Linked DNA regions of Homo sapiens: regions 2, 3, 4, 5, 6 and 7 are each linked to region 1. The links are contacts of gene promoters, found by promoter capture Hi-C in blood cells and fetal thymus (Javierre and others, 2016). All regions are on one chromosome and are shown on one strand. The core of a region is centred on a gene start or on the middle of the fragment in contact, and the rest is flanking DNA. Distances in the headings are between cores, read along the strand shown. Region 1 holds the start of RBM26 (RNA binding motif protein 26). Region 2 overlaps KCTD12 (potassium channel tetramerization domain containing 12). Region 3 overlaps MYCBP2 (MYC binding protein 2). Region 4 overlaps FBXL3 (F-box and leucine rich repeat protein 3). Region 5 has its middle 15 kb from the start of FBXL3. Region 6 has its middle 8.0 kb from the start of CLN5. Region 7 overlaps CLN5 (CLN5 lysosomal BMP synthase).

What was found. The method cuts DNA at HindIII sites, captures the fragments that hold promoters and counts their contacts. A CHiCAGO score of 5 or more calls a contact.
Region 2: a fragment that was not itself captured here is called in contact with the fragment with the promoter of RBM26 in region 1 in 3 of 17 cell types (total CD4 T cells, non-activated CD4 T cells and activated CD4 T cells); the score reaches 7.1 in total CD4 T cells.
Region 3: a contact is called between a fragment that was not itself captured here and the fragment with the promoter of RBM26 in region 1, in 2 of 17 cell types (total B cells and naive CD8 T cells). The highest score is 9.5, in total B cells.
Region 4: a contact is called between a fragment that was not itself captured here and the fragment with the promoter of RBM26 in region 1, in 7 of 17 cell types (non-activated CD4 T cells, naive CD8 T cells, total CD4 T cells and 4 more). The highest score is 11.1, in non-activated CD4 T cells.
Region 5: a contact is called between a fragment that was not itself captured here and the fragment with the promoter of RBM26 in region 1, in 4 of 17 cell types (naive CD4 T cells, total CD4 T cells, naive CD8 T cells and 1 more). The highest score is 9.6, in naive CD4 T cells.
Region 6: a contact is called between a fragment that was not itself captured here and the fragment with the promoter of RBM26 in region 1, in 1 of 17 cell types (total CD4 T cells). The highest score is 5.5, in total CD4 T cells.
Region 7: a fragment that was not itself captured here is called in contact with the fragment with the promoter of RBM26 in region 1 in 3 of 17 cell types (non-activated CD4 T cells, naive CD4 T cells and naive CD8 T cells); the score reaches 6.6 in non-activated CD4 T cells.

What each region holds. Positions count from the first base shown.
Region 1 is chr13:79,404,738-79,408,127 of GRCh38, forward strand. It overlaps RBM26 (RNA binding motif protein 26), which reads right to left and starts at 1,518. Exons shown (of 22, transcript NM_001366735.2): 1 at 967-1,518. The coding sequence starts at 1,037. RBM26-AS1 (RBM26 antisense RNA 1) reads left to right here and starts at 1,572. Exons shown (of 7, transcript NR_038991.1): 1 at 1,572-1,740. RefSeq lists a silencer at 1,074-1,273 and enhancers at 1,183-2,174, 1,504-1,803. The HindIII fragment of the contact is 7,810 bases long and covers 1-3,031 here.
Region 2 is chr13:76,877,902-76,881,280 of GRCh38, forward strand. It overlaps KCTD12 (potassium channel tetramerization domain containing 12), which reads right to left. Exons shown (of 1, transcript NM_138444.4): 1 at 2,274-3,379. Among named protein-coding and RNA genes, the nearest start is that of KCTD12, 6.8 kb to the right of the region's middle. The HindIII fragment of the contact is 765 bases long and covers 1,197-1,961 here.
Region 3 is chr13:77,056,690-77,060,085 of GRCh38, forward strand. It overlaps MYCBP2 (MYC binding protein 2), which reads right to left. Exons shown (of 83, transcript NM_015057.5): 77 at 2,834-2,937; 78 at 1,529-1,717; 79 at 297-404. Among named protein-coding and RNA genes, the nearest start is that of MYCBP2-AS1, 17 kb to the right of the region's middle. The HindIII fragment of the contact is 8,850 bases long and covers 1-3,396 here.
Region 4 is chr13:77,014,909-77,018,382 of GRCh38, forward strand. FBXL3 (F-box and leucine rich repeat protein 3) reads right to left here. Exons shown (of 5, transcript NM_012158.4): 4 at 501-672. Among named protein-coding and RNA genes, the nearest start is that of FBXL3, 11 kb to the right of the region's middle. The HindIII fragment of the contact is 949 bases long and covers 1,557-2,505 here.
Region 5 is chr13:77,040,594-77,044,373 of GRCh38, forward strand. No RefSeq gene overlaps it. Among named protein-coding and RNA genes, the nearest start is that of FBXL3, 15 kb to the left of the region's middle. The HindIII fragment of the contact is 234 bases long and covers 1,324-1,557 here.
Region 6 is chr13:76,982,405-76,985,811 of GRCh38, forward strand. It overlaps the pseudogene DHX9P1. Among named protein-coding and RNA genes, the nearest start is that of CLN5, 8.0 kb to the right of the region's middle. The HindIII fragment of the contact is 3,853 bases long and covers 1-3,219 here.
Region 7 is chr13:76,997,619-77,001,053 of GRCh38, forward strand. It overlaps CLN5 (CLN5 lysosomal BMP synthase), which reads left to right. Exons shown (of 4, transcript NM_006493.4): 4 at 2,840-3,435. The coding sequence ends at 3,351. Among named protein-coding and RNA genes, the nearest start is that of CLN5, 7.3 kb to the left of the region's middle. The HindIII fragment of the contact is 4,399 bases long and covers 1-3,435 here.

The sequences.
Region 1 (3,390 bases), core at 268-2,767:
GAGTCCTTCCTTGACCAATGTGAAATAGCCCCCCTCATAATCACTTTTACATGATTCTCTATTATTACAATAGTCACAACTCTATTAATATCTGGATTTATTTATGTCTTGTCGATTTTAGAATTTAAAAGCTCTATCCCCAAAGCCTCCCGTAGTATACAGTAGGTACCTAATAACTTTATTAAATACGTGAATTTTCCCCATTGCATTATTGTAAATCAACCAATTCTGATTAAGCACTTTGGTCCATGTCATATTTTGTATTAACAAGTCGTCAAAACACTCCTTAAATTTTCCAATCTAAGACTATTTCAGCACTCTAACCGCAGCCCCCAACACAAAATCTATCTATAGCATCCCACTTAAAACTGCTAAATATTCCATATGGATGAAGATTCAATTTTCTTCCTCCTCTCCAAGCTAACGAACGCGTAGGCGGGAAAGGGGAATTTTACTGGCCACCTCAGCACCTGTTACATCTTCAATCAGTGAAGAGAGGTGCAGATGAGCCAGACAGCACATGGGAGACGTGGCCTTGCTTTCAGGAATTATATTTAGGTGAAACGTGAGTGATTTAAGCTAGAACTGCCCGAATCCCCAATAAAGGCCGTCTACTTCATTTAGAAAAACAAGGTAAAATAATCTGTAGGAAGTAAAATACAGTCGGTTTCACTAAAATAAACCGATTTTGAGGCCCCCGGAAAATATTGCGGGTGGGGGTTGGAGACGGTCTATATATAACGGGAAAACGAGAGCAGCTCAGCAATAAAATAAAGCTCGACTCAGGCTCTCGGGGGTATCCTGAATCTGGAAGCGAGGTGGACGAGGAGGAGAAGCCACAGAACCCTGGGACCTCCGTTCACCGCTTCGGCCTCCACCGCAGGCACTTGGGGAAACTGCACAGATCTCTGGGTCCGCCTATCTCCCACTGCCATCCCTGCAAAGAGATATCCCCCGGATACTCACATGGGCTCGAGAGTCTTGCTGAGCCAGGACTTGAGTGCCTCGAAGTTTTCAATGATCATTTTAGAAACCATCCACAGCGGCCCTAAGGCCCGTCACACTCCTCCGCCCGCCCAGGTCGCGGCCGCTACAGCCGCCGCTGCCCCCGCCCCCTCCTCCGCGCGCCGCCCGCGTGGGCCGCGGTGGGAGGCGCCGGTGGCAGGTTCCCGCGGGCCCCGGTCGGCGAACAGCTCTGCAAGGACCGCCGCAGGCCACAAGTGCACGGGGTGCCAGGAGCTCCCCGTCCCCGGCCCCCAGCCCGGGCTGAAACAGCAACGGTTTGCCCGGGCCCTCCCCCTTCCCTCTTCCCCAGCAAATCTACCCAGACCGGAAGCGCGACACGCGCTTAGACCCGAGCCTTCTCTCAGCCTCGGGACCAGGTGCTTGTTGGCTACGTCGAAAAGGCAAAAGTAAAGAAAGCGAAGGCGAAGGGCAGCTCAATGGGAACGATTCAGGGGGTCTTCCCGGCTCCCAGCACCCCCAAGAAGATGGCTGCCGGTAAATCTCGCGAGAATTGATGAAGTCTCGCGGTGGCTCCCGGAGCCTGCTGGGAGAGACGTAAGGTCGGCGGAGAATGCGCGGGTCGAGTGCTGTAGTTCGATTTTTGCGTGTGTGCGTTGCTTGCGGCCTTTGTGCCTTTTTATTCTTTGCTTACCTTTATGATATAAAGACCTTATTTCTTACAAGGAGGAAAAGACCGCTGACTTCAGAAACAGCGGGAACCCCAGCTCGTCCCCGGTAAGACGGCCGTGGCCTGTCAGCTGGAACGGTCCTGCCGGATGGATCGCTCTTTGAGAGCGTACACTCCCGCGTGCGCGACACCAGGCGGCCCGTAGGTTCCAGGTGCCGAGCACACTACCTCCTCAGTTTACCTAAGTGCCCTACCAGTATCATATTCTGTGTATGCTGTGATGTGAACGAGGTTTGTAAACACAGGCTGGTCTAATGGAGCCCAATGAGACCGCCAGAGGATTAGTGTCTTGTCCAACAGTACTTGACTTGCTGGTAGAGCCCTAATGACTGAGGGCTGCCCACAAGGGAAAGGTGAGAGAACCTTCACGTCTCTCAGGTAGTTTCCAGCCTGCACTTTCCCCCAGCTAAAGATAAGTTTTGTTATTTTTAAAATTCTCTTTATTTAGAGCAAATTCAGCCCTATCTCAGATCGGGAAATTATATAGTATCAAAAGAGAGAGTCTTCATATTAGCAACCCAAATAAATAAACTATTTTCCTGGGTGATCAAATAAGTTTGATTCCTGCTTGAGTTCTATTTAGATACTAGGTGGAATTTTACAAAGGGTCTACGTTCCATGAACTGTAATGGAATGAAAATATTCACAATCTAAAGACATTTTCAGTAAGTAGATCAATAAAAGCTCTTTATGAGAGACACCGATAGGCTAAATTGTTCTTAGGAACTCTTGAGTTTATAATTTGCTAGAGTGAAGTGTCTTTAAGGATTAGGTGGAAAGATTATGAACTACAAAGCAAGACATTTGTTTTAAAATACAGCATATAGAGTAGAATACAAATTAGAATCCAGCTACTGAATAACCAGGGTGTTGATTAAAGTGATTTAGCTGAGTGAAATAAACCAGACATGAAAGGACAAATATTATGATTCCACTTACATTAAGTACCTAGAGTAGTCAAAACTCCTAGAGACAGAAGGTGGAATGGTAGCAAGAGCAGGGGTGGAGAGGGTGCCCAGGAGAAGGGGAAATGAGGAGTTATATTTCAGTGGATAATAGAGTTTCAGTTTAGGATGATTTAGATTCTGGAGATGAGTGGTGTTGTGTGGGTTGCACAATATGAATGTACTTAATGCAGTGGACCATATACTTAATGAAAACGGTAGGTTTTATATGTATTTTACAATAAAAATTGTTTATAAATTTAATACTGCCGAAAGTTAAAATTATATTTGTTTAGTCTGTTTGTTGTAGCCTTGCCACAGGCTGACGCCACCAATATTTTCAACCTTATCACCAGCTACTCCATTACTCTGGCTCTCCACTTCAGCCTTCCAAAGCTTCTATCAAATACTGTATACCCCAGATAAACTGATTTGCTCACCCTCCCTTTCTCCAAACATTTGTTCACTTTATTTTCCACAGAGAACGCTTCTACTTCTTTCCCTGACTGCTCAAACTTTGCCCATCCATCTCTCATACCACTGTCACTGTCTTATTTAAAGTCTTTTATTCTTCCTAAATAATAGCAAAAGCCTTTTAATATCTTTGCCTTTTATGCTGACCTCCATCTCAGTTCATCTTCAGTTGCCCTCATCATCATTGCCTTTAATAGCAGTAATTCTAAAATTTTGATCTAATCATGTCACTTTCTTGCTTAAAATCTTCAACTTCCACATTATCTTTAGAATAAAACA
Region 2 (3,379 bases), core at 329-2,828, 2.5 Mb before region 1:
TTTTGTTTGGTTGGTTGGTTTTGGTTTGGTTTGGTTGTTTTTTTGGTGGGCATAGAGGGCTTTTTGCTTTTGCCATGAGGTTTCAGCAACACTGAGCTGTTTCTAGTTCTTGCTGTCTCCCGATCATTCCTCACTAAGCTGACCTGGACTTAGCAGGCCTCTCCTCTTTCTCTTCTTCACTTTTAAGCCTTTGCTCTGGTGTCTCCTCCTCTAGCAAGCCTAAGACCTGACTTAGGTATCTCCCTTTCTGACTCCCTCAGTTGCTCAGACTATCTTAGCCCTGATTTCCAAGTCATTCTATCATTATTTGGCTCTCTTACTGATCCTCAGCACTTCTGTGTCTTAGTCATCCCCGTTTCCCTATCAGATTGGCACAGTGTGGCACACAGTAAGTACTCAGAGATTTTGAATGAATGAATCCTCAATGGCTGCTCTACAAGGGGGAAAGTTGCAGCAGCCAAGTTAAGAGTTAATGGCCTAAAACAGCCTCGATGACCTCTTTTCTACTTCGCCCCATCCACTACTCTTAGGAGATCTGTGAGGGTAAAGAAGGTGCCCTTGGGCCCCAGAGGGACATTGAAACTTCTTACCTGAGCATAGTAAAGCAGAGAACTTAGGAGGCTGACGTTTTCCCTAAACTATCTCTCAAAAATCAAGCCCAGTATATGCCAACAGAAGTTCTCAACTCTACCACTACCACCATCGCCAAGTTCCTAACGGCAGAAGAGCGTGCACTCATTCCTAGGATACTACAAGCTCAGAGTATCTTTAACATGTAGGGTTTTCTCTCTTAAATTCATGAAAATTTCTCAATCCTTCCATAAAATGAAACAGATTTTTATAAATCACTTACCAGTGAAAGGACCTAATTCCCCTATCCATAGGTACATATCTTAATTAGTAAAACTGAGATTCCAGAAGGCACCCCATATTTCTTCTATAACTTCCCATCCTTTTCCAAATCCCCCCGAGGTGCCTCCTTAAGAAGTATGGGATATAACATGGCTCCTCTAGATATACTGTATACCTAAAACCAAAATATTGGTCATAATTCATTGAAAAAATCTAAAATTTGAAAGGAGGTATAAAACAAAGGGAAGGGGCCTTGTTTCCAATATAAAAGCTACATAAAACTTCACACTTATATACCTAATGACTCTAGAGTGATTTCACACCACCCCCACCAATTCCTAAAAAGCTTCCAGTGAATCCCACTGTTTCCATAGTTCCTCAAGAAGGAAAAAGTACCTCCTGGTCATTTCTCTCTTGGCATCACTTCATACAAAAAAAGCTGGACTCAAATATATTTGCATATATGTAAAAAGACATTCAGTACAGCACTCTTTGGAGTAGAAAAAAAATACCCGGAATTTTAAATGCCTATCAATAAAGGACTTACAAAATAAACGACAGCACATCTAGACAATGGCGTGTCATGTAGAATATCATGTAGCTATCAAACAAAATGAGGTAGATCATTGCCACATGTTCATGCATTGCAGTAGCTCCAGGATATGTAGTTAACAAACAGAAAGCAAGACACAGAACAGGTGTGATTTCTACAGAAAAGATAAAAAAAAAAAAAAGGGAGGCCTCTAGGAAAAACTAGCGGTTACTGGAGGAGGGTTAATCTGTATTACATTTTCAAAAAATAATGTGTCTACACACACACACTTTTAAAACAAAAGCTATCCAGAGGAAGTACAGGCAAAAGGAAAGAGGAAGGGTGAAGCCTGGCTCACTCTACCCGCCTGACTCATGGCTTCCGGTGCCATAACCCAGACGACTTGTTTCTGTGATTTCTCAATCTTAGCAGCACTGTGCCTTCTTTAGAGAGGAGGAACATCAACCACTAGAGATGAGGCAGTAAAGTGCCCCCACATCAAAAAATGCAGCTCCTCTTTCCCAACATTTTTTAGAACCTTCTCATGAACTGTACTTTTAAGTAAAGCACATCTCGAAGCTTCTATTTCCCTGTCCCTATACACAGCAAGTGGCATATGCTGCAGAGAAGTCAAAGAAAATGTTTGTGAAAAACATTTCTTCCATATTAAGTACCAGACCGCCTGGGCATTCTTGACAATAAACTCTGGGGAAAGAAGCTATTTGTGCTTGGTCCTGCTGGCCGGTTCCTTGGTGAAGAGTTCTGATGGCATAATGCTCAGCAGTAGTCCCACAATAATTTGGGAAGTGTTGCCAGTATTTAGAGAACCCCGTAAATGAAATTAGACCAGTGTTCAAGCCAATCCATGCCAAGGAGCCAAGAGGAATAATTAAAGGAGTGAATGTTTTATTCTTTAGTGTTTAATTGAATACATAACAAGTCACATAATCAATGATTCATTACTTCACACACAGGAAGGAAAACAGTAGCTAGTATTTCTGTTATACAACTGGTTGTGAACAGGAAGAACAAAAATCTTTATAGCATTAGATGGTTGAAGAAATTCTCAAAGTTTGGGCATGTCTGAAAAGACTTTGACTGCATCTTTTTTCAATATAAAGGGATTTTTTTCTTACATTTCTGTGTCATTAGAAAAATCTGATAATCTTATAAGATTTTTTCTGCTCTTCTTACATTTAGAGAAAATGGTTTAATGATATGTACTATTTAAAAAATCAGAATCCCAGATAACTCTGTGTGAATCTTACATTGTCTAGCAGATAAGGTTTTCAGATGCCTGGAAAAATTTAAACAACATATAATTTACATCTTCAAAATTAACATCCAGATGGATGTTTTAATCCTTTGTCACTAAATGGTTACTAACGCTGTTTGAGTGGTCATAAATGAATTGTCATTTGTATTCAATAGTAATAGCAAAATTTACCTGCCTATAAAGTCGCAAAAACAGTTGTATAATAGTTTACATTACAATTAATGTACCCATACCTCAAAACACATTTAGAATTTAAAAAAACTGGCTTGGAAAAAAATCACAAAAAATTTAAGTGACAACAAATCTTGATTAACTAGTCCATCTTCCTACCACACATGATTATACTCTAATGTAGATATTCTGGTTGAATTTCTTCCAACCAAGTTTGAAGGGCCCCAGTAGAAAATCAAGTGTTAATACTTTCAGATTTTTATTGTCCAAAACTGTTGACAAAGAAAAGCTAACTTCAACATAACTTGTTTCTGGCTATACAAAGACCTATTTCAGGTGCTACAGATACTGAAAATAGGAGTATTTTACTTATTTCTCAAGAGACAGACTTATGCCATCTAAGAAAATGAATTCAGTTTTTAAATGATTTATAGTAAGGAAAAACAGGAAAACAATTCCAAACGAAGGATTGACTCTGATAGGCTTACAACAAAAATATTCAGTTTACTATTTTAAAAACTAAATTGAGTAAAGTATTTGTGATTTAG
Region 3 (3,396 bases), core at 181-2,680, 2.3 Mb before region 1:
AGCTCTCTAGTGGTCTGAGAGTAGAGATGCATGCCCTTTAATGCATCACGATGTTTAAATGAACTTTCTCATGTAATATGTTTAACAGAATGTAATCAGTTTTAAATGGACAATTACTGTTTTGAGATGCATTATAACAGAGAGATTATATTCTCAGGTTCCACATGAATGAGAAGGGAAGAAACTGCTAGGGGCTGGTGGGTAAAACCAAGAGATACTGACATATGTTTATTTTGAAAGGTGAAAAGAAAGAACAAAAGAAAAAGAAAGTACATGATTTCAGATTCTTTCCATACCTTGCAAATGGGACAAGATATAAATCCAAATGTTATCCTTGGGCCAAGCCATCGATTTTCTAATACTCGCCGACAGCACTGTAAGTGGAATATGTGACTACAATCCAGCTTAAATAAACAAAAGAAAAGGACATAAGCAAATATAATAATGATAAACAGTTGAGTGACTGGGAGATTATTTAATGCAAGGCACTACTTAAAGCAGGTAAGAGAAAAATCAAGAAATTTACTATAATGAAAATTCATTGGGACACTGAAATTGGGACATTATTATTTACTAAATTTCATTACAGTAAATTGGGATACTATTAACTAGGCCTTTGGCTTCTCCTGCTTTTTAACATTCATGCCACTTATATAAAGTAAGCTAGGTTAGGAAAAAAAGTAAAATTATTCAATTTTGTATCTCACAGAAAGAAGAAGAAATTACTGACTTATGATTTTCTTTTGGAGACTATTATTATCTTGGAATCATGAGAACTGAAAATATAAGCAATGGGCAAAAGTTAAAAAAACCTATTTAGTGCACAGTAACTTGTGTATGTATAGAAGTATGTATCATTATGTATAGATCAATTATATAATGTTGTAAAAATACCATTCTGGATTTTGGAAATTAAGAAGAGCCTTAGCTACTGGGGGATAATCTAATTATTTCCCCCTGGCTTCTGAATATTTTATACATTCTGTTGATTACAGAGGTTCACACAAATCACAAATTAAAGCTGAGCATGCAACATAGAAAGCACAGCATAAAGAGGCAGAATTTGCTCCTCATTAGCCTGGTACATGTATAGATTAAAAGAACACTTCTGCCTAGTGATATAAAAAAAGATTTCAATCAACTGCTTTTTTTTTTTTTTTTTTTTTTGAGACAGAGTCTCGCTCTGTCACCAGGCTGCAGTGCAGTGGTGCCATCTCAGATCACTGCAAGCTCCGTCTCCTGGCTTCATGCCATTCTCCTGACTCAGCCTCCTGAGTAGCTGGGACTACAGGCACCCACCACCACGCCCAGCTAATTTTTTTGTATTTTTGTAGTAGAGACGGGGTCTCACTGTGTTAGCCAGGATGGTCTCGATCTCCTGACCTCGTGATCCACCTGCCTCGGCCTCCCAAAGTGCTGGGATTACAGGCATGAGCCACTGCGCCCGGCCTCAATCAATGTTTATTTGACAAATATATTCCCCATCTTAATGTCTGGATACATTCAATACTTTAAAAGCTGAGGCAACCTGAATGGCTGGTGCTGCCGAGAGCGCTTCGGTGAAACATATCATGCACATGTCATCGGCGTCTTGCTTCAGGCTTGTGGCACTTTTGTCACAGCCGTGTAGACAGGGCAGACAGTGCTCTTCGTTTTTAACACCCCCGCATGGATGGCCACAAGGATGCGTCTTACTACAGGCTATCTTAGCGTATTCCTGTTAAAGATGAATTACAATGTTACACAAGTATGTAAAAAAGCACACATTCTGGTAATTTTCCTTATTATATAAATTTCCAAAGATTACTTTCCCACAGGAAGTATCTATGCAGGCCAAGTAACAACAAAGTAAAGTTATTTCTAATCTTTGTTTGAATATAAATTAGGCTTCTTAACAAAGTTTTTTTTTTTTGATGCGATTTTTAAAAAATGCCACTCTCTATAAAGGGAATGCTGATAAGTGAATTATAATTTCATATTTGTCATCATGCACAGCTATAAAGCAAAAAGTTCCTGGCTGGGAGTCGTGGCTTACACCTGTAATCCCAGCACTTTGGGAGGCTGAGGTGGGCAGATCACGAGATCAGGAGTTTGAGACCAGCCTGACCAATATGGTGAAACCCCATCTCTACTAAAAATACAAAAATTAACCAGGCATGGTGGCGCGCGCCTGTAATCCCAGCTACTTAGGAAGCTGAGGCAGGAGAATCGCTTGAACCCGGGAGGCGGAGGTTGCAGTGAGCCGAGATCGTGCCACTGTACTCCAGCCTGGGCGACACAGCCAGACTCCGTCTCAAAAAAATAAAAAATAAAAAAAGTTCCCCAATGTATAATTTCCCAGTCACCACTCTCCGCATCACCAAAATGCAGATTTTTTTTTTTTTTAAAAAGGTACCTTTGACTCTCTGAGCATATCCACATTCTTATTAATTGAGAAACCAAAAACATTTGGACAACATAGAATATGTTTATATATGTTCAGGATTAAAGAACTCTTAGATGTTGAAAATGTATTTTAAGGAAATAAGTGAATAATGTCTGTAAGAGATAAAGGAAATACAGTTCATAAATTTTTAACTGTTTCTAGTACAAAAGTAGATATTAAATACATATGATCATGGTAACTGAGAAACATACAAAAAGAGTGTGGTTTGGGCTTGAGAGCCTTATTTGACCCATTCTTCAACTTTGGTAAGGCATTTGATGCTTCACATAGGTAATACACTCATTTAGGAAGCTGGAGTGACGCTGAGCTAAAACTCTTTTCTGTATGAAGTAAAGGTGTCACAGGGGAACATGGACAATGGGATGGCCTGTGTCACTATATACTCACCTGGCAATCTGCATCAGAACAAACACTGCCAACAGCAGATAACTCTGTTCCACTCCTGGAACCACAGAAGCGACATGCTTCTGAGCTACTCGTGGTGGGTTTGCCTAGGTTCAAGCAGAAAAATAAAAATCCTTCTTATGGATGTTTTCTAGATATGTTAACAGAACTAAATTTTAAAAAGCAAACTAGGTTTGTATAAGTTGCTATCCTTGGGAAATCAGCCTGACAGTTTTAGAACGGAAGGTTTCTAAGTTGTCCTAATTATAAAGTAAATAATGACACACAAAAAAAGAAATTAAAGACCTATCTGAAGCCAAATACACTCTCGACTAATATTTTTTTTCAGTGAAAGAAACAGACTAGACTTCTAGTCAAGTTACCAGACTGAGCAGCTGTTACAAGCCCCTGACTCCAAATGCACAATACCATAAAAAATATGATAACCAAAAATTAAATAAAAATACACAGAAGTTAGGGAAATCTTTAACTATATATAACAAAATTATAAGGCATGGTATAAAGCCTATCATCAGAGTATGAAACTTGAAAAACAGAATTCCTAC
Region 4 (3,474 bases), core at 781-3,280, 2.4 Mb before region 1:
ATTTGATGGGTTCTTGGCTCCAAAATTCAACTTAGGAAAAACATCATCTTGCAAAATCTAAGGCTACCACTTAGTACAACTTAGTTGTACAACTTAGTACAACTCTTCTCCCTCTACATAGTGAGAAGAAAAGCAATTATGTGACTGCTCTGACTCAAAATCTACCCTATTAGCTCAACTACAATGAGAAAAAACTCTACTGTAATTAATGGAGCACCTCAGGCTGACCTCATACTGTCCTTTCCTCTTTTTTTTCCTGTTCATTTTCTAGCATGTGCTATTCATAAATTTATCAAATAAGATTAGAAAATAAGCTGAAAGTCAGTGTCTAGGCTAGTAACCCTACAGAACTTATGCTATTCTATTACTACATTAAAAATATTTTAAAGAGATGAAGCAGTCATATTAATCCACCTTCAAGGTTAATGATCATAGTTTTTTCTAATTTGAACATAGCAATGCATTTTACTAAAATGTGTCTAGCAAAAAACACAACATACCTGCTGGAGAGACATGAGGACAGCTGCTCATTTTCAACAGCTTGAGTGTATCACTATTGTTGGCCACTAGTACTTTGAGAGATGGATCATCTACTGGAGTATCATCTATCTTAAGCGAAGACAGGGATTTGGAGTTTACGAACACAACTGTCAGTGCAGAGATAAAGTGAGACTGAAAAGCAAAAAAAATAAAATAAAAATTATTTCAATTTTTAGAAATGAGAATCAAGGGGTTTCCTAGTACTACAGTTTATCTGAACCATAATGACATATTAATATTTTGTAAATGTTTTAGGGGTGGCATCCCTTCACTCTGTTGTTGGGAATATGGTAAAAATAGGTGACTATCTGTCATCTTTGAGAAGAGTCTATTTATGTGTGGGGGAAAAAAGCATTTCAAGCCTCAGGATAAGTGTCTCTAAATCAGAGAAACCACTGGTAAGTAAAAAGAGGAATTCTGGAACCCAGGATGAGAATCTCTCTCAGACACTTCATTTTGCCATATCTGGAAACCCTAGTGTTCTATAACACTAAACTGCATTTCTTTTCTGTTTGATAGTTATGACCACTAAATAGTAACTATTAACACCATCATTAAAAATTAATAATTTATTCAAAATCTATGACAGACTCATTTGAGATATGAAAACTCATAGAAAATTTGATTATAAAACAATCAAAATAATACTTAAAATTCCAAGTTTAAAACTCCTTCAAATGTTATCTACAATATTTTCAAGTCTTCTATTTTAATGTATTTTGATCCACAAAAGCACCAATGAGTATCATTCATCATATATGTATATATTTGTATGTATGTACATATGTGTATATACACACATACACACACACACGTTATATATCTGTTGGACAGGATTTGATCTAAAGGAATCAATGTAGGCAAACAGGAATTAAAGCATTCTCAAAGTATGCAGCTCTCAATCGGAGCTAAGATATGAGTTGAAACCACTGGGCAAAGAATCTAGGAGAGTAAAGAAAGGCTAATACATGGTCTAACACATTCCTCTCTACAAAACCAACTTCATGCTCCAGTTAAGCTTTATAAATTCTCTACAGGAGTGAAAAAGGATAAGGGCAGGCTAAGAGCCAAGAAAGTATAATGAAACATTACTTTTTTTTTTTTTTGAGACAGAGTACTGTTCTTGTCACCCAGGCTGGAGTGCACTGGCACTCCTTAGCTCACTACAACCTTGAACTCCTGAACTTAAGCAATCCTGTTTCATCCTCCCTAGTAGCTAAGACTATAGGTGTGAGCCACCATACCCAGCTAACTTTTTTTTTTTGTAGAGATGGGTCTTGCTATGCTGCCCAGGCTGATCTTGAACTCCTGGCCACAACAGAACCTCCTGCCTCGGCTTCCCAAAGTACTCCAATTATAGCTGTGAGCTACCACACCCAACCAAAACACTACCTTCTTGATCACAATTCCCTAATTTACTTTTTCCCTACTGTGATTAAACAACTGGTTAACTAGATTTTGATAAACTATTTAACTACTTAAATGTTAATATTTTTCTCCTAATATTTTCATATCAAACTCAATTATATCTTGTACAAACATATTTCATTTGCAGTCTAATGAGTGCATCACTGACGTCTTTCCCCATTTCCCCAATTTAGCTCTGGACAAAAACATTTCTTCTATGTTCTCTTCAGTTCTCTTGGGATTTCCAAAATATTGCAACGCCCTACTTCAATCTTCTACCAAAGCCATAAAAGGAAAAGAAAAAAAGAAAAACAGTTATTAAGTATCCTAGCCTCACTTAATAAGGGAAGAAGCATTCTTTCCATTAGCTCCATTCATGGTTCCCAAATTAGTACTAGATATATGCATAGTGATAAGAAAAAAAAGAAAATTAAATTATGTTCAACATATCCTTTAATATGGTATACATACATACCATATGAGTCAGTATGTATATTTGTATTTTAGCTATGGTAGGTACACTAAAAATCAATTCAGATTGTTTCATTTCCTATTTGAAGCTTGAAGGTGGCGCTATACCATGTAACTAGTATTTCTTAGCGTGAGTTCCTTTAACCATCTTAATCAGAATCACCTGGACTGCTCACAGGAAGAGAAGACTTAGAATCACCCCGAATTTGAAAAAGGGATAGAAATCCAAAATTTAGGAGGCTATTCAGAAGATTTTTACACATTAAGTCGGAGTACCACAATGATCTTTCTGTACTTAGGATCTTAAAATATTAAGATAATCAGATTCTCCTGCCCATTTCCCTTATTTTATATGTGAAGAAAAACATTTTATCTCAAAATATACATATGTAATGAAAATGTTTCAAAATCAATTAAGACTTTGACATCAACTGGTGATTTATTTGGTACAGACATTCCACTGAAACGACCACTTGGGTTAATATATTCAATTTAGTTATATTCCCTCCTCAATCATCCTAGTACATTAAACTACTAGATACTTAAAAGGGTGTCTATATTTTAGTTTTCAGTGTCTTCTGGGAAAAAAATATCAAATTATTGTTGGATACTAACCTATTAACCATTAGCTAACATATTCAGACACCTTTACCAGTTGCCTTTCTAAAAATGCACCCTTCTTATTTTTGTATTTTAAGAGAATAGTTGTGAGAGAGAGACACGATCTCTGATTATATGCAGGATCATGTTAGAATATATATAAGAATATATGTTAACTTTTCACCCAAAGAAAGGATGTCTTTAAGTCTGTAAATTAATCTAAACTGTGCTGAGACTAACTTTGGTCATGATTAAATCTTTCCAGAACATTTGCCAAAAGATTTTAGAAGCTATACCTGCTCTCAATATTGGCACTCTACTTTTCTTTGATTCTAACTTCACCAACCTGCTCTGGAAGCCCCAAAATGAGTATCTATGTGTCCCTTTTTTTCTAATATGCTTGACTCTATTTTACTTACTGAATTTCTTTTAATACTTCCTATAGACGCCTCTGTA
Region 5 (3,780 bases), core at 191-2,690, 2.4 Mb before region 1:
CAATTTGATAACATTGTATGGTTACAGCGAGACACTAATCTTTAACCTTGGCTTTTTCTTTCATAATTTTTCTTCACTGTAACTCCCTCCAGCGTATATCTTTTTGTAGTCTTGTTATTTTTTTCTAAGCCACCCTAAGACATTTGAGAAATGAAGCCATAAGTAAGTCATTTAAAATGTATTACCCTCCTGTGTCAGGCAGGTCCTCTAGGAAGCAGATGCCAAGATTAAGTTAGAAGTGCAGAAAATCTGTTGGGGGTAATCCCTATGAAAGATAAAGTGATGAGGGAGCAGGAGTGGGCAGGGAGAGCCATTAGACTGTGATGCAGGTCTGGCATCTAGGAAAGAAGAGAGAAGGAAAGATTGGGTAGGAAAAGCCTCCGACTGCAGGGCAGCTGTAAGACAGTCTCAGTCGGCCTGAGTTCTTACGCAAGACCGCGCACGCAGGAGTGCCGCTTGGGCAGAAATGGCCAGGCCCGAGAACCCCATCTGAACTCTATCACAGGCTGGGGCTGCCCTGGAGGAGTGTGACATTGGGTCATATGTGGGGGTGATTAAAGCTGGAGGCTGTCAGCTAACTGGACTCCTTGAGGTGGGGCCTCCCCTGAAGGGAAATCTGGGTGGAGGTACCTCCTGACGACACTGAACACTCTTGGAGGCATATGCTGTCTTGTCCCCTGTGCAACCTTGGCCATACGATAAGTGTCCTGAAATTTAAAACTTTGAGTACTGACATGCCTGATACCCAAATAAAATGCTCACTGGAGCATTTTGGATTTCAGATTTGGGATGCTCAACTGGTAATGCAAATATTCCCAAACCTGAAAAAACCCGAAATCAGAAACACTTCTGGTCCCAACCATTTTGGATAAGATGTATTTCATAAATTAGTATTTCTTTTCATAGAACTAGCAGTAATGTAACAATAATAGCATGATGTGATAGAGCTTGGGCTTTAAACCCAGAAAGCTGTGAATTCACATCTCAGGATTTTTTTTTCTGAAGCTAAACTACAGCTGGAATCTAGTGCAAATAATTTCTTTAAACAGCCAAAATGGGATTAATAATGCTTTACTCTCAGAGTTGCCAGGAGGATTAAATAAAATGCCTAATTTCACTGGCTGCCTTTTAGGAGGTGTTGAGTAAATGTCCTCTCCTTTGCTCTCTCTTGAATAGTTTATTGTGGGATAAAGCACTTTTGTATATACCTTCTCATTTGATTTTGATTTGGAATAATTTCTAATAAATTGAGATTTTAAAAGGTATGTGGCTGACTCAAGGCCACCCAAGCAAAAACAAGGCAGAACCAAGGCTTGAATTCAAAGCTTCTGGTTTCCATCCCAGCACTCTATGCACTATCGGCAGTTTTCAGGAAAATGAGCCGCAGTGTTCCATCATACAGCCAATAGCAGAAACACGTGATGATGTATAGGTAGAATACAGTGACACAGTGGGCAGGGAGATATATTGGGCTGAAAATCTGAAAAACAATACAAATTACTAAACATTCTGAATGAAAAGTGAATAAAGGGAGCATTGCATATATTTTATCAAATAAGCTTATTGAGGTTGGGTGCGGTGGCTCACACCTGTAATCCTAGCTGAGGCAGGTAGATCGCTTCAGCTCAGGAGTTTGAGACCAGCCTGGCCAACATGGTGAAACCCTGTTTCAATTACAAAAATTAGCTGGGCATGGTGGCTCGTGCCTGTACTCCCAGCTACTTGGGGCTGAGGTGGGAGGATCACTTGAGCCCAAAAGGCAGAGGTTGCTGCGAGCCGAGATAACGCCACTGCACTCCAGCTGGGGCGACAGAGTGAGACCCTTTCTTAAAAAAAAAAAAAAAAACCCAAAAAACTCAAAAAACCAAAAACCAAAACCAAATAAGCTTATTGATAAAATAGGGAGATTTTAGGCCTAAACAGTCTAGCCATAATACTAAGAAAAATGGCTTTTCCTAGGCTTGAAAATATAACGGAAAAACAATTTCTTTCCAGGAAGATTCACTGACATCTACCACTGTGATTCTGCTTTCTGTCTCCTGCCTTGGATGTTACATGCAGTGTTTGAAGGATGGTCCTTGTGTGTAGGATGCTTGAGCTAAAAATGCCTGCCAAAGCCACTCCTTCCTGTGCTTTGTCATAATTTATTGCTAAGATGTTTATGTTCTCTGGTTTTGAGGTGCTAGAGATCCTGACTAAAAGTGACTTCCTCATAAATGAAGATAAGTTGAAGTCATTGTGAGTATTCACTACACAGCTTTGTTGATTTTATCCCTTTCATAACTTGAGATGGCTTTTTTAGCCAAGCCATCTCAATAGTTTGTTTCTTTTCCTCTACGATTTACAAACTGAGCTGACCAGTTTGCCAGCAAAGTTAACTGACGCAAGATGGTATTCTTCGCAGCTATTAAGTGTCCATAAAGTCTCTTATCTGTGTGGCATTCTCAAGGTTAGTTTCATTCCTGTGGCCTGTGAATTTAAGTCAAATATACTGACAGTGTCAAGTCAAATATACTGACAGTGTCCTCACTGCATTCTCCCCTCCAGTTTTCTTGTAACAGCTTTAGTCTCTCTACGTACTTTGTGTTTTCTGGAAACATTTTCAGTCAATCCTAAGCTTGAACACTCATACTTACTGTTCTTTGATCATATTCTAGATTTTCCTACTTAGGTATTTCTCATGCCTTTCTCCACATCTCTGCTCCTTGAAATGCTACTTATTCTTCAAAAGGCAGCTTAAATGGCCTCTTAGCTACACTCCCAACGACAAAACAATAATGATTTTTCCTAAATCCTGAAGCATTTGGCTTGGATATTTTTATGAAACTTATTAGAACATTCTGTAAAATAGTTACCTGTGCTCAGATCTGATCTTTATTTTTTAAGTTCCTTCAAGGCAAAGATTGTTTTAAATTTCTCATAAATGCTTAACACAAATGTCATTAAATTTGTCAGTAATTCTATATTGACAAATTAAGTTCTATATTTCCCACAGTTGGAATTTAGAACAAAATGTGATTAAAACTTTTGCTAGTCTTGGCCAGGCGCGGTGGCTCACGCCTGTAATACCGGAATTTTGGGAGGCCGGAGGCGAGCGGATCACCTGAGGTCAGGAGTTCAAGACCAGCCTGGTGAAACCCCATCCCTACTAAAAATACAAAAATTAGCTGGGTGAGGTGGCACACGCCTGTAGTCCCAGCTCCTTGGGAGGCTGAGGCAGGAGAATCGCTTGAACCTGGGAGGTGGAGGTTGCAGTGAGCCAAGATGGTGCCACTGCACTCCAGTGTGGGCAGCAGAGTGAGACTGTCTCAAATACAACAACAACAACAAAAGTTTTGCTAATCTGATGTATGATGAGTCAACAATCAATAATTTGGCAATTTCATGACTCGAGTGTCAAAAAGATGTACCTAAACACACCGTTGTCTATAGAAAATGAATAAAAAATTAGTGATTTTATTACTTTATATGAACTTCAAAAAGGGGCTGGGTGCAATGGCTCACGCCTGTAATCCTAGCACTTTGGGAGGCCAAAGCAGTGGGGATTGCTTGAGTCTAGGAGTTTGAGACCAGCCTCGGCAACATGGCAAAACCCCATCTCTACAAAAATTACAAAATTAGCTGGGCATGGTGCTGGTGCATGCCTGTAGTCCCAACTACTCAGGGGGCTGAGGCTGGAGGATCGCTTGAGCCCAGTTGGAGGCTGCAGTGAGCTGAGATCACGCCGCTGTACTCCAGCCTGGGTGACAGTGTAAGACCCTGTCTCATAAATAAATAAAT
Region 6 (3,407 bases), core at 43-2,542, 2.4 Mb before region 1:
ACTGCCTTATGTGATCCCGAGAAATTACTCAAAATATCTGTACCAACGTTTCCTCAGGCTGAAAGTAGGAAGTAGCACCTTTTTCATAGAGTTGTTGGAAAGATTAAAAATAGTAAATGTCATCTCTGTCAAAACCTTGATACTAGTGTATTTCTGTTCACTGAATGGTTTGTACCCCTTTAGTTTCCTTGATATACGTTGATTAAAAAAAAAAAAAATTTGACTGGGCCCGGTGGCTCACGCCTGTAATCCCAGCACTTTGGGAGGTAGAGGCAGGCAGATCACCTGAGGCCAGGAGTTTCAGACCAGCCTGGCTAATGTGGCGAAACCCCGTCTCTACTAAAACTACAAAAATTATGTGGGCCTGGTGGCACATGCCTGTAATCCCAGCTACTCGGGAAGCTGAGGCAGGGAGGCAGAGGTTGCAGTGAGCCGAGATTGCATCACTACACTCCAGCCTGGCCTACAGAGCAAGACTCTGTCTCAAAAAAAGAAAAAAAAAATCAACAAAATTGATTAAAATGTCTAATTGGCTTTTATTAGTGACTCATAAAACAGGCAGTTGCTAATCAAAATAGAGGGAGCTTCAATGAGCCTGGCAGACCAGTTGGTTTTCCTAAGGTAGCTTGAACAGAAATAGGGAAACAGGAATACAAAAAGTGAATTGGTTAACATCAGTTTACTTCAGGTTACTTTACTTATAAAGGGTTAAAGCAGAGAGGACTTCCTTAACATGCTGACTTAGGCTGACTGGGCCCTTTCTGATTGCTTGCTGTGAATCTCTTGTTTTTACGAAAAGCCAGTCTATTTTGGGAATTTTCCCGTTTACGTTTCAGTTTGATTACAGTTCGATTACTTAGCACGAGCGACCCCATTTTGGTTCAATCTGTTGCGACCTAATGCAGGGGCTCAGTTCAAAACCATGGCCTCTCATACATTTTATTTAACAACACAAAGAAAAGAGTTTTTGTTCTGAAGCCAATTTTCTTGCGGCTATTGATAAATCGATCATAACAGAACTAAAAAATATATTCAATAAACAAGTACAAGATTAAAGAATTGTCTAAACAATGTAATGTAATAAGCAAAATAAATCCAAATCACTTGATTTAGGATTAGGGTAAGGTGTTCCTTATGGCTCCACAGTTTGTTTTTAAGTATTACCTATTAAGTAGATGTCTCACTCTAATCTCTGCCTTCAGTGAATATTATAAATTTTAATTTTATTAAATTCACACTTAAATGATGCTTTTAAAATTATCTTTGGGTCGGGCACAGTGGCTCACGACTATAATTCCAACACTGTGGGAGGCTGAGGCAAGAGGATTACTTGAGCCCAGGAGCATGGGCAACAAAGTGAGACTCTGACTCTACCAAAAACATTTTATTTAATTAGCCAGGCATGGTAGCACAGGCCTGTAGTCCCAGCTACTCAGGAAGTGAGGTGGGAGGATCGCTTGAGCCTGAGAGGTCAAGGCTGCAGTGAGTCATGATCATGCCACTGCACTCTAACCTGGACAACAGAGCGAGACCCTGTCTCAAAATAAAAATGAAAATAAAATTATCTTTGAACTAAAATAAATGATGCTTTAGGCAAGTGAAATTGTCGAAACTCTGAAAATAGGATGTACGTATAGTTGATGTATTTGTTTAGCCCAGTTTATCATGTAAACAACAGGTTAGTATACCCAAGTTTCAGAAACACTTTGGGGGTTCATTAATTTTTGGTTACCTTTAAGATTTTCTTAACCTCTTACATGAATATTTGTGTCAGGGCCAGGCTCTGTGGCTCATGCCTTTAATTCCAGCACTTTGGGAGGCCAAAGCAGGAGGATCGCTTGAGCCCAGGAATTCGAGACCAGCTTGGGAACGTAGTGAGACTCCTTATCACTACAAAAAATTTAAAATTATTTGGGCATGTTGGTACATTCCTGTAGTCCAGCTACTATAGGGGCTGAGAGATGGGAGGATCACTTGAGCTAGGAGGCTATGGCTGCAGTGACTGTGATTGCACTACTGCACTCCAGCCTGGGTGGCAAAGTGAGACCCTGTCTCAAAAAGAAAAAAAGGAGTAGGAAATTAGTGTGTCTAGGGCCGGAGCTCTTAGGCAAACTGGTGAAGCCCCTTCTCAGAATAATGCTTTTAACGCCTAAAATAAAAAATGAGATTGTAAATGAGAAACTAAAAATTAGCTTGGACTTTAATCTGCCCTCGTATTCATTAGCCTGGACTGATAAAACCAGCCTCAAAATTACCAGAAAACAGTACTTCTCTCAAACCACAGTAAATCATAAAGTGTCATAACAACCTCCTTTCTTTTCTACTTAATTTTTTTTTTTTTGCCAAGTCCTTTATGGAAGTTGTTGTGCGTGTCTCTGTTGTCTTTGTGGAAGGCCAGAGCCACACGGTCCTAAGAGCTGGGAACCAGGAAGCATAGGCTGATCTGAAGAAGACACTTCAATCATGGGTGATATTAAAAATTTTCTGTATGCCTGGTGAGGCAAAAGGAAGATGACTCCATCCTATGAAATTAGAGCATTGGGGAACAAAAGTAGGCAGAAATTCTTGTGTGAGGTTCAGGTGGAAGGGTATAATTACAGTGGCATAGGAAATTCCACCAATAAAAAAGATGCACAGAGCAATGCTGCCAGAGACTTTGTTAACTATTTGGTTCAAATAAATGAAGAGTGAAGAAGTTCCAGCTTTTTGGGGTTGCATCTCTGCCCCCACTTACTGATATTCCTGACACTACAGCAAATGCTGAAGGAGGTTTACCAACAACCATGGGAGGTCCTCTTCCGCCACATCTGGCTCTCAAAGCTGAAAATAATTCTGAGGTAGGGGCCTCTGGCTATGGTGTTCCTGGGACCAAGGAGCCAACTTGAAGGATTACTACTCAAGAAAGGAAGAACAAGAAGTGCAAGCGACTCTAGAGTCAGAAGAAGTGGATTTAAATGCTGGGCTTCATGGAAACTGGACCTTGGAAAATGCTAAAACTCATCTAAACCAATATTTTCAGAAAGAAAAAATCCAAGGAGAATATAAGTACACCCAAGTGGGTCCTGATCACAACAGGAGCTTTACTGCAGAAATAACCATTTACATCAAGCAGCTGGGCAGAAGGATTTCTGCACATGAACATGGATCAAATAAGAAATTGGCAGCACAGTCCTGTGCCCTGTCACTAGTCAGACAACTCTACCATCTTGGAGTGGTTGAAGCTTACTTCAGACTTACAAAGAAGGAAGGAGAGAGAGTGGAACCTTACAAAGTAAACCTCTCTCAAGATTTAGAGCATCAGCCACAAAACATCATTTGAGAGCTAAATTTTGAGATTATGCCCCCGCCTGAAGATCCTTCTATGCCAGTTGCACTCAACATTGGCAAATTGGCTCACTTTGAACCAT
Region 7 (3,435 bases), core at 936-3,435, 2.4 Mb before region 1:
ATTAAGTCTCATCTATTTATATTTGTTTTTGTTGCATTTGCTTTTGGTGGAACCACTAAACTCTGACCCAAACTATTACTCATGCAGAACTTCACCTGTTGGTGATGAGTAGCTTATCTCTGATCTTTGAATGTTTCCCTAAAAATGCTCTTTTCCCATCATAAAAATGAATAAAATGATAAAACATTTTGTACAATTAAATTGGTCTTTCTAAACGAAATAGTAAGAGAAATCCATAAAATGCCTGATTAAAGGATATGTTAACTATATCTGAAAAAAATTTTAGTGATGATATTTTTATGTTGAAAAATAATAGCTACTAATATAGACTGGTTCTGGCACTGTTCTGAGTACTGTACATACATCACATCATTCATCATCACAACTTCTGGAGGTAGTAACTATTATTTTGCCTATTTTACAGATGGAGAAACTGAGGCACAGAGAGGTTAAAGTTACACAGCTTAGTAAGTGGGACTCCAACCCTGGCAGTTACGCCCCATTGCCCATTCTCCTAACTACTTTGATACATTGCCTCCCAAAATGTATATGATCTTATATTTGAGACCCTCTTGAGCAGTTTAAATATTTTATCTTTGAGATTTTTTTCTTCTTTTGGATGTATTGGAAAGTTGCTGAAAGTTGGAATTGTGTTGCAAGTGCTGCATTGTTGGTTAGTAATGAAAAGAGTTCAGCAATCCTTTCATTGGTAACTCCTTATGTGACTTGGGTCACATTTTATATCTTATTGGCCCGTTGCCTCATGTGCAAAATGGAGACAATATACCATAGCATTTGAGAAGTAAGGAGCTTGTCCATATGATTTATGAAGCATTACATTATAAATTGCTGTTCCCCAGAACAGTAGAAACATCTGAAATGAAAGCACTGTTGTGACAATAATTATTCAGTGAACCCCAGGACTTGAGGAAGTAATCATGCTTCCTATTTGTATAGCTCTTTACAAATGATTTGGAGGTATGTTAACTCACGGTTCAGTGGAGAGGATAAGATACTCATTCTCTGCAAATAAGGAATTGAGGCTCAGCCAGGTAACATGACTTACTTGCCTCTCAAGGTCAAAGAGCTGGATGTAGCAGAATCAGGAATAAAACTGAGGTCTTTTAAATGTAACAAGGATCTGTTAGCCGAATGCACCATGTTGTTTTCTAATATTTCCTGCTACTTTCTAATCAATGTGCCTTAAACCATACCAACAATACAAAAGTCCATCATTAGCGGTTCTTTCTTTCATTCCAGGCCAGTTCACACCTTTCCCCATTTCCACCTACATCGTTATCTGAAAATCCTTCCTTCTGACATAAAGTCAATGATCATATGAATAAGTGATCACTATTTTTTGTAAAATAGTTCAAAATATGCCAGTACTTAAATCTTTTAAGTCATTTATTTGCCTTGTGAATAATCCTGTGATTGACAAAATAGTGTTTTGAAGCATTCTTGTCTCATAAGGATAGTGGTGGCATTTGAAAGTTGAAGAATGCTAAGAACAGTATCCCCAGTTCTAATACAACAGGCTTTATTCTGTTCTACAATTTTAATTCCATAAAATTGATAAAGGCAGTCACTCTATTCATTTTACAGAACATGAAGTATTTATTTTATGGACTCAAGTTGGAGTAACCAAAGAGGTTTGCACACAGTGACAGGATGCAGTGTTTGGGGCCCAGTTCTATTAGGCATTATAAATGCCCAAGATGAGAGTTGTAACCATGCAGAGTAGTGTTTTCTGAATATTTGGAAAGATTCTTCTGGTCTAGTACAAGATGGTAGAAGAGAGGGTTAGCCATCCTGGAGTATGAACTCGGCCTAAAACATTTCCAGTTTAGTTGATTTGTTGGAAGGACTTAACGTGGCAGGTGGAGAGGTCATCAGCAGCATCCCAGCAACTCCAAGTACAGGGAAGAAAGAAACGTACCAAACACACAAGGTGGATGGGGTATGGTGCTTGTTCTCATAACAGTAATAGCCAGCCTTCTAGAGCAGTGGCTCCTCAGGCAGCCATTCATACTTTATGTGTAGCATGCTTTGCAACAGTGAAGCTCCACATTTCCCACACCTCCATTTTCCTTACACTGTCTTTGCCCATTCTGCTTTTCCTCTTTCGCAATTCTTTTTGTGCTTTCCTTTTCTCTTTTGCCTCTGAATCCAAGATTTGGTGAGTTGGGTAGAGAAAGAGAGCTTCTGCATTTGTATAATTTCGCTTTGACTATAGCTTAAATGATTATAGAATTAGTATGTAAGATGACTTCTCCTTATACACCTATTATATCTAATGTTTATAATTCAGAAATATCTTGTGCCTTGAAGAATGGAATAAAATTGGCTGAGCTTGGATTCCTGTTGTGAAATGCAGGTGTGGAAATTCAAAACCATTGTTTACTCAGGCATCCAGTCTTAATCAAGTTAGAACATTTTACTTAAAATTAATATGATTAGGCCAGCCATGGTAGCTCAAACCTATAATCCCAGTGCTTTAGAATGCTGAAGCAGGAGGATCACTTGAGGTTGGGAATTTGAGACCAGCCTGGGCAATACAGCAAGACCCCGTGTTGCCCAGGCTGGTCTCAAATTAAAAAAAAGAAAAATTAAAAAATTAGTTGGGTTTGGTGGCCAGCGCCTGTAGTCCCAGCTACTCAGGAGGCCGAGGTGGGAGGATCACTTAAGCCCAGGAGGTCAAGGCTGCAGTGAGCTGTGATGTTACCACCGCACTCTAGCCTCGGCAACAGAGGGAGACCTGTCTTAAAAAAAAAAAAAAAAAAAATTAACATGATTAGCTTTGTTCACTAGGTGACTTTGTTTTGTTTTTTTAAACTAGGAAACATGTTCAACCAAATGGCAAAGTGGGTGAAACAGGACAATGAAACAGGAATTTATTATGAGACATGGAATGTAAAAGCCAGCCCAGAAAAGGGGGCAGAGACATGGTTTGATTCCTACGACTGTTCCAAATTTGTGTTAAGGACCTTTAACAAGTTGGCTGAATTTGGAGCAGAGTTCAAGAACATAGAAACCAACTATACAAGAATATTTCTTTACAGTGGAGAACCTACTTATCTGGGAAATGAAACATCTGTTTTTGGGCCAACAGGAAACAAGACTCTTGGTTTAGCCATAAAAAGATTTTATTACCCCTTCAAACCACATTTGCCAACTAAAGAATTTCTGTTGAGTCTCTTGCAAATTTTTGATGCAGTGATTGTGCACAAACAGTTCTATTTGTTTTATAATTTTGAATATTGGTTTTTACCTATGAAATTCCCTTTTATTAAAATAACATATGAAGAAATCCCTTTACCTATCAGAAACAAAACACTCTCTGGTTTATAAAACACCTTAATTCTACTGCTCTTTTTTCTCCAATCACCAGCATCTGTTTTTCAGGGGGTGATTTTACTTTTGTGAATTCCTTAG